3 separate regions of the Homo sapiens genome follow, and regions 2 and 3 are each linked to region 1. The links are contacts of gene promoters, found by promoter capture Hi-C in blood cells and fetal thymus (Javierre and others, 2016). All regions are on one chromosome and are shown on one strand. The core of a region is centred on a gene start or on the middle of the fragment in contact, and the rest is flanking DNA. Distances in the headings are between cores, read along the strand shown.

Region 1 (3,023 bases), core at 19-2,518:
GAGAGAGACTGGCTGATAAACAATCTAAGGGGAAAACTTTTAAAGATTGTAACACTAAAAATAATTCCGTAAAACTACAATGCAAGTCTACTCAACAAAACTTTAAAAATATAATTTTATTTTTCTTTCAAGAGATCATGGGAAAATCTACTATTTTCGTTTAAAATATATAACTTCTATTTGTTACTATATTTGGATTTGAGCTACTACTATTCTGGATTTGTTCCCATGTATCTGTGGAACCAGGCAGCTAATTAATCTTTACTCAGCATCTCTGGTATTTCTTGAATGAAAATGGAATGGATTGGTGGAATTAATGGCTAGATGTTTAGAAGACACTACTTACTTTGTTATTTTCTCTGTATAATGATGAAAGCCTACAACTATACAGAGACATAAACGAGCCAGGGTGACAGGTTGGGAAAGATGAAGAGGGAGGAGGAAAGGATAGGCTTGTAGCCCTCATCCGGTCAAATTCCCAACTTTGAGCTTCACTTTATTGTAAAATTAGAGGCTAAAACTATTTAACGCTTCCAAAACTTTTTGATTCAACAAATGCCAATTAGTTACTAACATAATTAATCAGTGTATCCTGATTTTTAAAAGATATTTTCCTTTGTGATTTAAAAGAAACATGGGAGTTGGAGTTGCAGCGTCAGTCCTGAAGGACTGACCTCGGGAGGCCAGGTAGGAACTGATAAACTGGCAACAAAATCACATGTTTTCAACTGAATATACTGATATTCAAGCGTCCAGAAAAACAATTTCGAGCCTACGTTCACAAGTTTGCCAGAAAGCCCTATTATTGACACAGCTGCGGATCTCAGACATCTGAGTTAGTCAGCACCATTCTGCTGGAGGGGATTAAGACTGGACGCTTCGAGCGGAGTTGGGAATGTTATCATCTGAGGAAACTAAAAGGCGCCAGCAGTAGGACTTTCTCCAAGGTCTCTGACAAAATATGTTGCGGGAAAAGTCAACCCGCCCCAAATTCCCCCGTGTGGCCCTAACTCGAGGCTCTGGCTCCTCGCGCCGGCAAGCTGAGGAAGAGACGGTCCCCTGCGATTTAGATACAAACGCGCGCGTGCAGGGAAGGCCATCCCAGGGCAGACACTGCCACCTCCGCCGCTTCCGACGCCCGCGCTCGCGGGAGAGCCTAGCGCCGCACGGGAACCTCCCGACCACCGCCGCAGCGCGGATGGGCGTCCCCGGGAGCCAATGGACGCGCCGGGAGGCGGGGCAGGGAGGCCGAGGGGGCGGGATTTCCCGCACGGCCGCTCGGCGCCTGGAGAAGGCTGTGCGGGCGGGGACGGCTGCAGCCCTTGCCGGAGAGGGCGGGCCGGGGTCAGCTGCGGCGGGCGGGCCGGCGCGGGGAGCTGTGGGCGGCAGCTGCGTCTCCTGCCACCGCCCTCCCTCCGCCACGATGCCGGGGATCGACAAGCTGCCCATCGAGGAGACGCTGGAGGACAGCCCGCAGGTGAGGCGCGGGAGCTGGTGGGCGACGAGGGAGAGCCCAGCTGGCCGACCCCAGGTCTGGCGCCTCCGCGGCTCCCGCAGGTGCCCGCCCCGGCCCAGGTGGGGGCCGCCGCCGCCCTAGGTCACCGCCCGTCGCAGGCCGCGCCCGGAGTTGTGGAGGCTGGGCCCGCCGCCCAAGGCCCGCGTGGGCCTGCTCGGCTGGGCCGAGGGCCGCAGGCGGAGACCGAGCCGCTGGTGCTCGTGGGCCGGGCGGTCACGTACGCGCGCGGGTCCTTTTTATTTGACGAAAGGCGCCGTTTTTATCGCGGTGATGTGAGGTGCCAAATCTCGATCCTGGAATTTTCTCCCTGAGAACCTCTTCAGAAAAATTGCAGAAGGGAGAGAAACCCCGATAGTCTTATTTAATGATTTCCGAGGCTCAGCAAGCTAAGGAAGGAAATGGATCGTTTTTCTTTGGGAGAGGCTGTAAGGTTGTGTGTGGAGCCCTAATGGCAAAGCCCGTGACGGGTCCCGGAGCCCAAGACCGCTCTCCCCGCCGAATGTGCCCGTGTCGCGGCCGTGACTGTGGTCGCTGTCACTCGAGCTGTGCACGGCGAGGGATGGACGGTGCCTTCGCCGCTCCGCGACTGCTGCGCTGCTCCCTGCAGACTTGGCCTTAATAAACTCATCAAAATAAAAGCCCTGTGTTCTGTGCGTCGGAATGATGCTGATGTGGTTGCTCTAGCTTAAGACAGTTTTGGAAAATGTAACCATTTAATATGTTTTCAGTACTGCAGAATGAAAGCAGCTATATTTTTTAAAATGTTGGCAGGGGCTGTAACTTGCATAGGGAAAACTTCATCTCTAAGCCGTTTTACACGATAATTTAAACGGTTTAAGACGGTGTTGCTGGTTGGACACTATTTAGAATGAAACATTTCTGAATTGTTGCTGATTTAGAAATGCAGTTGCACCATTTCGTGTGTCTTTACAGTTGAACATGGCCCCCAAAGAAGAAAAGCAGAAGAGGTCTAGATCTCCTTTTCCTGGATGGCACTTCTGCCATGGATTTTGTGCCAATGTTAATTGCCAAGTTGAAATGGGGCTCTGATTGTAGAATTGATTTGTTCTTTTTTATTCTGAAAGTTATCTTCACAGGCCAGTTGCCTGCTGCTAATGTACTCTTAACAGCTGATAGTGACAAAAAGAGAAACTCACATTTGGTTTATCTTGACTGCCAGTATACTCGGTTCAATTTTTTTCTTGATGATTTCTCCATATAAAGTTATAAACTGTATTTGTTTCAGATGATTTGCAAAAAGTTTGTGGAATTGGTCAGGTGTACTTTGTCATTTTACTTTTTATTATGTAAGATTCAACAGGTTGCCTTACCTTTCTTCTCTTACTTGGCTTTTTTTTTTAATAGCCCATAAAGACTATAAACGGCTCAGAATGGATTGCACACTGCCCTGGAAATGACTTGTGAGGCAGAGATAAACTCTTGACTCATCTAATGTCTTGAGGTTTTTGCCAGATTAGTTTACAACTTAAGAATTGTGGTTTTTTTT
Region 2 (3,256 bases), core at 402-2,901, 370 kb after region 1:
GGTGCCTATACTCCCAGCTACTCCGGAGGCTGAGGCAGAAGAATGGCGTGAACCCGGGAGGCGGAGGTTGCAGTGAGCGGAGATCGCGCCCCTGCACTCCAGCCTGGGCGACAGAGCGAGACTGTCTTAAAAAAACAAACAACAACAACAAAAAAACCCCAAAAACTTCTTTACTCAGAAGTACCCTCCTTTGCATTGGAGATACATGTAAAGAGTTGCTTAGCAGTTGAATAACTCAAAATTGCATTTTGGAAGCTTGCTAAGTGACAAGACCTTCTTGTATCCTTTTGTGAACCCCCAAAATATGAGACAGGCCTCAGTTAATTTAGAAAGTTAATTTTGCCAAAGTTGAGGACACGCGTCCATGACATAGCCTCAGGAGGTCTTGTAGACATGTGCCCAAGGTGATCAGAGCACGGTTTGGTTTTATACATTCTAGGGAGAAATGAGACATCAATCAATATATGTAAGATGAACATTGGTTCATTCTGGAAAGACTGGACAACTCAAAGCAAAGGCAGGAAGACTCTGAGTGGGGAGGGAGCTTCCAGGGCATAGATAGATAAGAGACAAATGGTTGCATTCCTTTGAGTTTCTGATTAGCCTCTCCAAAGGAGGCAGTCAGATATGCGTTTATCTCAGTGAGCAGAGGGGTGACTTTTTAAAGAATGGGAGGCAGGTTGGCCCTAAGCAGTTCCCAGCTTGACTTTTCTCTTTAGCTTAGTGAGGTGGAGGCCCCAAGATTTATTTTCCTTTCACACTTTAGGCCTTATGTCTGTTTTTAGTTTTATATAGTAGAATTCCTTAAAACAATCTTCAACTAATTCTTAGGGTCTTCTTAAATTCAAAAGACAAACCGTATGAGCCCTCCTCCCTGTAACTTATTCCAAATCTTAATCCATGTTTTCTGTTTAGTTATGCAAAATAAATCGAAAGAATTCTGTTCTCCATCTCTAGCCTCCAAAACCTGAACCAAAACAAAAGTTGTCAAAACAGATTTTTCAGTAAGAATACACTACACATCAAGTGGCTAATGTAAATTACAAAACAGGATGTTAATGGCAGACTGTAATATCTCTATTGTACAGATAAAAATAATCAGGGTCAGAGAGATTAAATATTCTGCCCAAGGTCACACAGCTAAAAGCAGTGGAACAGCTATAAGAACCCATTTCTTCTGGTATTAACTGGTATTTACACTCTTTTTTTTTTTTTTTTTTTAATAAATAAGTGGATTCTGGCTATGTTGCCCAGGCCTGTCTGGAACTCCTGGGCCCAAGCAATCCTTCCACCTCAGCCTCCAAAGTGTTGGGATTACAGGTGTGAGCCAGTGCACCCAGCCATTAACACTCTTAACCACTACACTATACTACCTTCTTACATTTATTTATTTATTTATTTGAGACAGGGTCTCACTTTGTCACCCAAGCTGAAGTACAGTGGCATCATCTCGGCTTACTCAACCTCCTGGGATCAAGTGATCCTCCCACCTCAGCCCCCAAAGTAGCTGGGACTACAGGTACACCACCACATTGGCTAAGTAGTGTTATTTTTTGTAGAGACAGGGTTTTGCTATGTTGCCAAGGCTGGTCTCAAACTCCTGAGCTCAACCAATCTGTCTGCCTTGGCCTCCCAAAGTACTGGGATTATGGGCCTGAGCCACTGTTCCCGGCCAAATTCTTTTCTTTTCTCTTTTCTTTTTCTTTCTTTCCTTTCTTTTCTTTCTTTCTCTTTCTTTTCTTTCCTTCATCCTTCCCTCCCCTTCCTTTCCTTTCCCTTTTCCCCTCCCTTCCCCCTTCTGTTCCCTTTTCCCTTCCCTTTTCCCTCCTCTCCCTTCCCCTCCCCTCCCTTTTTCCTCCTGCCTCAGCCTCCCAAGTAGCTGGGACCACAGACATATTCCACCATGCCCAGCTATTTTATGTATTTTTGGTAGAGTTGGCGTTTTGTAGAGACCAGCATGTTGCCCAAGCTGGTATCCAGCTGCTGAGCTCAGGCGATCTACTCGCCTTGGCCTCCCAAAGTGTTGGTAGTAGAGGTGTGAGCCACCGTGCCCAGACCCCAAATTTATTTTTATTTTATTTTATTTTTCTAGGTCAGGCATGGTGGCTCACACCTGTAATCCCAGCATGTTGGGAGGCCAAGATGGGAGACTCACTTGAGCCCAGAAGTTCCAGACCAGCCTTGGCAATATAGTGAGATGCCATTTCTATTTTAAAAAATATTTTAAAAATAAAATATTTTTCTATTCACCTTTCATCAATACAAACCCAGAAGAGAATCTTTCTTATTTTTAAAAATGAGGAAATTGAGCCCTACAAGAAAAATTGCTATAGTTTATTGATCACTTGCTAAGCCATGTACTTCATTTAATCATCGCTTTTGAACACAGTGTTGTATAAAGTTGCCCAGGCTCAAAAGCATGTACTCATAACATACTACACTAGGTAGTATGTTTTCCTCATCTCTGGTTATTTTATTTTATTTTTTTTTGCTCTGTCACCTAGGCTGGAGTGCAGTGGGGCGATCTTGGCTCACTGTAGCCTCTGCCTCCTGGGTTCCAGCGATTCTCCTGTATCAGCCTCCGGGGTAGCTGGAATTACAGGCACATGCCACTGCGCCCGGCTAATTTTTGTATTTTTAGCAGAGAGGGGGTTTCACCATGTTGGCCAGGCTGGTCTCGAACTCCTGACCTAGGTGGTCCACCCACCTCGGCCTCCCAAAATGCTGGGATTACAGGTGTGAGCCACCGCGCCCAGCCTCTGACTATTTTTCTTAGTGAGATCTTTTTAGTCACAAATATGTATATGGAATTTACATTCCAGTCCCTTGGGTTTAATAATGTACAGACAGCAGACCCCCTGTATCTTCAGGTTTCAAACCCACAGATTCAGCCAATAGCAGATGTGGAACCTGCAGATGCAGAATGGCAACTGTAAGGGCCTTGAGCATCTGCAGATTTTGGTATCACGGGGATCCTGGAACCAATCTCCCCAAATACCCAGGTACAACTATAATTATTTTTGCTGATTGTTATGTCTCATTAGAATGCAAGCTTATTAAGGAAACCATATCTCTTCCTTTTTTCTTTCCTTCTTTTTTTTTTTTTTTTTTTTTGAGACAGTCTCGCTGTGTCACCCAGGCTGGAGTGCAGTGGCGCTATCTCAGCTCACTGCAATCTCTGCCTCCTGGGTTCAGGTGATTCTCCTGCCTCAGCTGCCCAAGTAGCTGGGACTACAGGTGCACACCACCACACCCG
Region 3 (3,315 bases), core at 640-3,139, 460 kb after region 1:
GCTGAAGCAGGAGAATCGCTTGAACCCGGCAGGCGGAGGTTTTGGTGAGCCAAGATTGCACCATTGCACTCCAGCCTGGGCAACAAGAGTGAGACTCCGTCTCAAAAAAAAAAAAAAAAAAAAAAAAAAAAATTATATTCTGTTCTGTTCTCACTGCTTTACACACTGCTTTTTTCCTTAAGATCTTGAAGATCATAGTATTTCAGTACATGATCTATTCATTAATTCTAAAGATGCTTTGAACTTTCCTGCTTCTTCCCTTGCTCATGCTTAAGAACTGATTCACCATTTATGCGCCTATCAAATTCCATCCAGCAGGGGAAATAAGTGATTTCTATTGCCTCTTTTTGTAATTTTTCCTCAATAAATATTGTGTATAATTTCTTAATTATATAAGCTGAAATTTTAAATTATGCAACCCTTAAGGTTCAAATCAATTTTCACCTTCCACCAGAAATTTTCACTTAGTCTCTGGACCACTGACTATATGGTTTTTTTTGTTTTGTTTTGTTTTTGAGATGGAGTCTGGCTTTGTCACCCAGGCTGGAGAGCAGTGGCATGATCTCAGCTCACTGCAACCTCCAACTCCCAAGTTCAAGCGATTCTGCTGCCTCAGCCACTCAAGTAACTGGGATTACAGGTGTGCAACATCCCGCCCGGCTAATTTTTTTGTATTTTCAGTAGAGACGGAGTTTCGCCATGTTGGCCAGGCTGGTCTCGGACTCCTGACCTCAAGTGATCCACCCACCTCAGCCTCCCAAAGTGCTGGGACTACAGGCATGAGCCAGCACACCTGGCCGACTATATGCTCTTACTTGTCTCTTCAGTTAAATTCTGGAGAGCAGGGATTCTCATGTCTTCATCTACTGATTAACATAATAGAATCCTTTGTGCATGTTAGGTACTTATTATGGCCTATGCAAATGGTCCCAGTGCTCCTATTATAATAGGTACCAACAAAAATTTAATGATGCTACCCTCATACTGATCCTGTATTACTTACAAAGGACGCTTAAGGTTAGGTAGGAATTCACTAAATGAGTAATACAGATAGAATTCAAATAAACTAGACCAAAAGAGTAATTATTTCATTATTTCAGAAAAACTCAATAAATAATTACAATTGCTAACTTTATCAAGTGTTTTCCTTGTGCCAGGCACTGTATTGTATCAATTAATCCTCACAATACACTAGAAATGAGAACTATTATCATCTCACTTCATCTGCCCATGGCTATAAACTATTATCAGTTAGAAACCCTACCTTCAGGAAATCCAACTTTATGTCATTGACATAGGTCACGCTGGTCTTTTGTCCAAACAGAAGCAAGTATCTACTGTGCATTCCACAGGACGGTAAAGCATTTTGCCAACTAAAGGATCACAAAAATGCTAAAAGCAGTTCATACAACTCAGAAAATAGCCCTGGGTACTATTATTACACTGAGTATTAGCATGTAAACAGGAACACTTTGAGAAATGAGGTAAACTATTACTACCAAGAATTTAAGAATTTTAGTTCAAGCTACCGCTAGCATTTCACATCTTCTTTGCTTCAGTTTCCCTAAATAGTAAACAACACAGTATAGTGGGGGGAAATTAGGCTTCAGAATCAAAAGGACCAGGGTTCAAATCCTGGCTTATTAAGCAAGTGATATGGGGCAAGTTACCTCTTTAAGTTCCAGTTCCCTTATTTAAAAAGTGTTTAGCTCATGCCTGTAATTTCAGCACTTTGGGAGGCCGCAGCGGGTGGATCACAAGGTCAGGAGTTCAAGACCAGTCTAGCCAAGATGGTGAAACCCCATCTCTACTAAAAATACAAAAATTAGCCCGGTGTGGTGGTGGGCACCTGTAATCCCAGCTACTCAGGAGGCTGAGGCAGAGAATTGCTTGAACCCAGAAGGTGGAGGTTGCAGCGAGCCAAGATTGTGCCACTGCACTCCAGCCTGGGTGACAGAGTGAGACTCCGTCTCAAAAAAAAAAAAAAAAAAAGAGTTTATGGGCCAGGCACGGTGGCCCATGCCTGTAATCCCAGCACCTTGGGAGGCCAAGGTGGGCAGATCACGAGGTCAGGAGTTTGAGACCGGCCTGACCAACATGGTGAAACCCCGTCGTCTCTACTAAAAATACAAAAATTAGCTGGGTGCGGTGGCACGTGCCTGTAATCCCAGCTACTTAGGAGGCTGAGGCAGGAGAATCGCTGGAACTTGGGAATCAGAGGTTGCGGTGAGCTGAGATCGTGCCACTGCACTCTAGCCTGGGTGACAAAGCGAGACTCTGTTTCAAGAAAAGAGTCTAAAGCCAGGCATGGTGGCTCATGCCTATAATCCCAGCACTTTGGAAGGCTAAGGCAGGTGGACTGTGGGAGGCTGAGGCAGGCAGATCACTTGAGGCCAGGAGTTCAAGACCAGTCTGGGCAACACAGCAAAACCCTGTTTCTACAAAAAAACAAAAAAGTAGCCAGGCATGTTGGTACACACCTGTAGTCCAGCTACTTGACAGGCTGAGGTGAGAGAATTGCTTGAGCCTGGGAGGTCCAGGCTGCAGTGCACTGTAGCCTGGTGACACAGCATGACCCTGTCTCAAATAAATAAATAAAGTCCAAATATTACTTAATAATTAGTGACGGAAAGGAATAAATGAGGCTGGGTACAATGGCTCATGCCTGGGATCTCAACACTTTGGGAGGTGGAGGCAGGAGGTTCCCTTGAGTCCAGGAGTTCAAGATCACACTGGGCAACACAAAAATAAAACAATTTAATCAGGCATGGTGGCACACACCTGGAGTGCAATGGCACAGTCTCGGCTCACTGCAACCTCCGCCTCCCTGGTTCAAGTGATCCTCCTGCCTCAGCCTCCAGAGTAGCTGGGATTACAGGTATGCGCCACCATGCCTGGCTAATTTTTTTTTTTTTTTGTATTTTTAGTAGAGATGGGTTTCACCACGTTGGCCAAGCTAGTCTCGAACTCCTGACCTCAGCAGATCTGCCTGCCTCTGCCTCCCAAAGTGCTGGGATTACAGGCGTGAGCCACCACGTCCAGCCTAGAATTCTTGTTTATATGAGTTATATCTATCAACATTCACCACTGTAGAAACTAAAAGTATCATTAAAAAAAATTGTTTATTTATTTTAAAATAATAACCTATTACTCATTAACATATTCAATTTTTATGAAAAGTAACTATATTCAGGTTGAGTATTCCTTATCCAAAATGCTTGGTGGGATCAGAAGTGTTTTGGATCTCAGATCTTTTCAGATTCTAGAATATTTGAATTATACTTACTCAGTTGGACATCCCAAATCCAAAAACCT

Evidence for each region. Contacts are between HindIII fragments. The CHiCAGO score rates a contact against its expected background, and 5 or more counts as called.
Region 2: a contact is called between a fragment that was not itself captured here and the fragment with the promoter of APPL1 in region 1, in 2 of 17 cell types (naive B cells and megakaryocytes). The highest score is 5.6, in naive B cells.
Region 3: a contact is called between a fragment that was not itself captured here and the fragment with the promoter of APPL1 in region 1, in 1 of 17 cell types (fetal thymus). The highest score is 6.2, in fetal thymus.

Annotation. Positions count from the first base shown.
Region 1 is chr3:57,226,461-57,229,483 of GRCh38, forward strand. It overlaps APPL1 (adaptor protein, phosphotyrosine interacting with PH domain and leucine zipper 1), which reads left to right and starts at 1,269. Exons shown (of 22, transcript NM_012096.3): 1 at 1,269-1,477. The coding sequence starts at 1,424. It also overlaps a transcript of HESX1 not described here. RefSeq lists a silencer at 1,067-1,726. The HindIII fragment of the contact is 8,451 bases long and covers 1-3,023 here.
Region 2 is chr3:57,598,651-57,601,906 of GRCh38, forward strand. It overlaps ARF4-AS1 (ARF4 antisense RNA 1), which reads left to right. Exons shown (of 2, transcript NR_132370.1): 2 at 2,093-2,266. It also overlaps a transcript of PDE12 not described here. Among named protein-coding and RNA genes, the nearest start is that of ARF4-AS1, 2.5 kb to the left of the region's middle. The HindIII fragment of the contact is 2,797 bases long and covers 254-3,050 here.
Region 3 is chr3:57,682,179-57,685,493 of GRCh38, forward strand. All of the region lies in intron 1 of DENND6A (DENN domain containing 6A), which reads right to left. Among named protein-coding and RNA genes, the nearest start is that of DENND6A, 9.2 kb to the right of the region's middle. The HindIII fragment of the contact is 4,499 bases long and covers 1-3,315 here.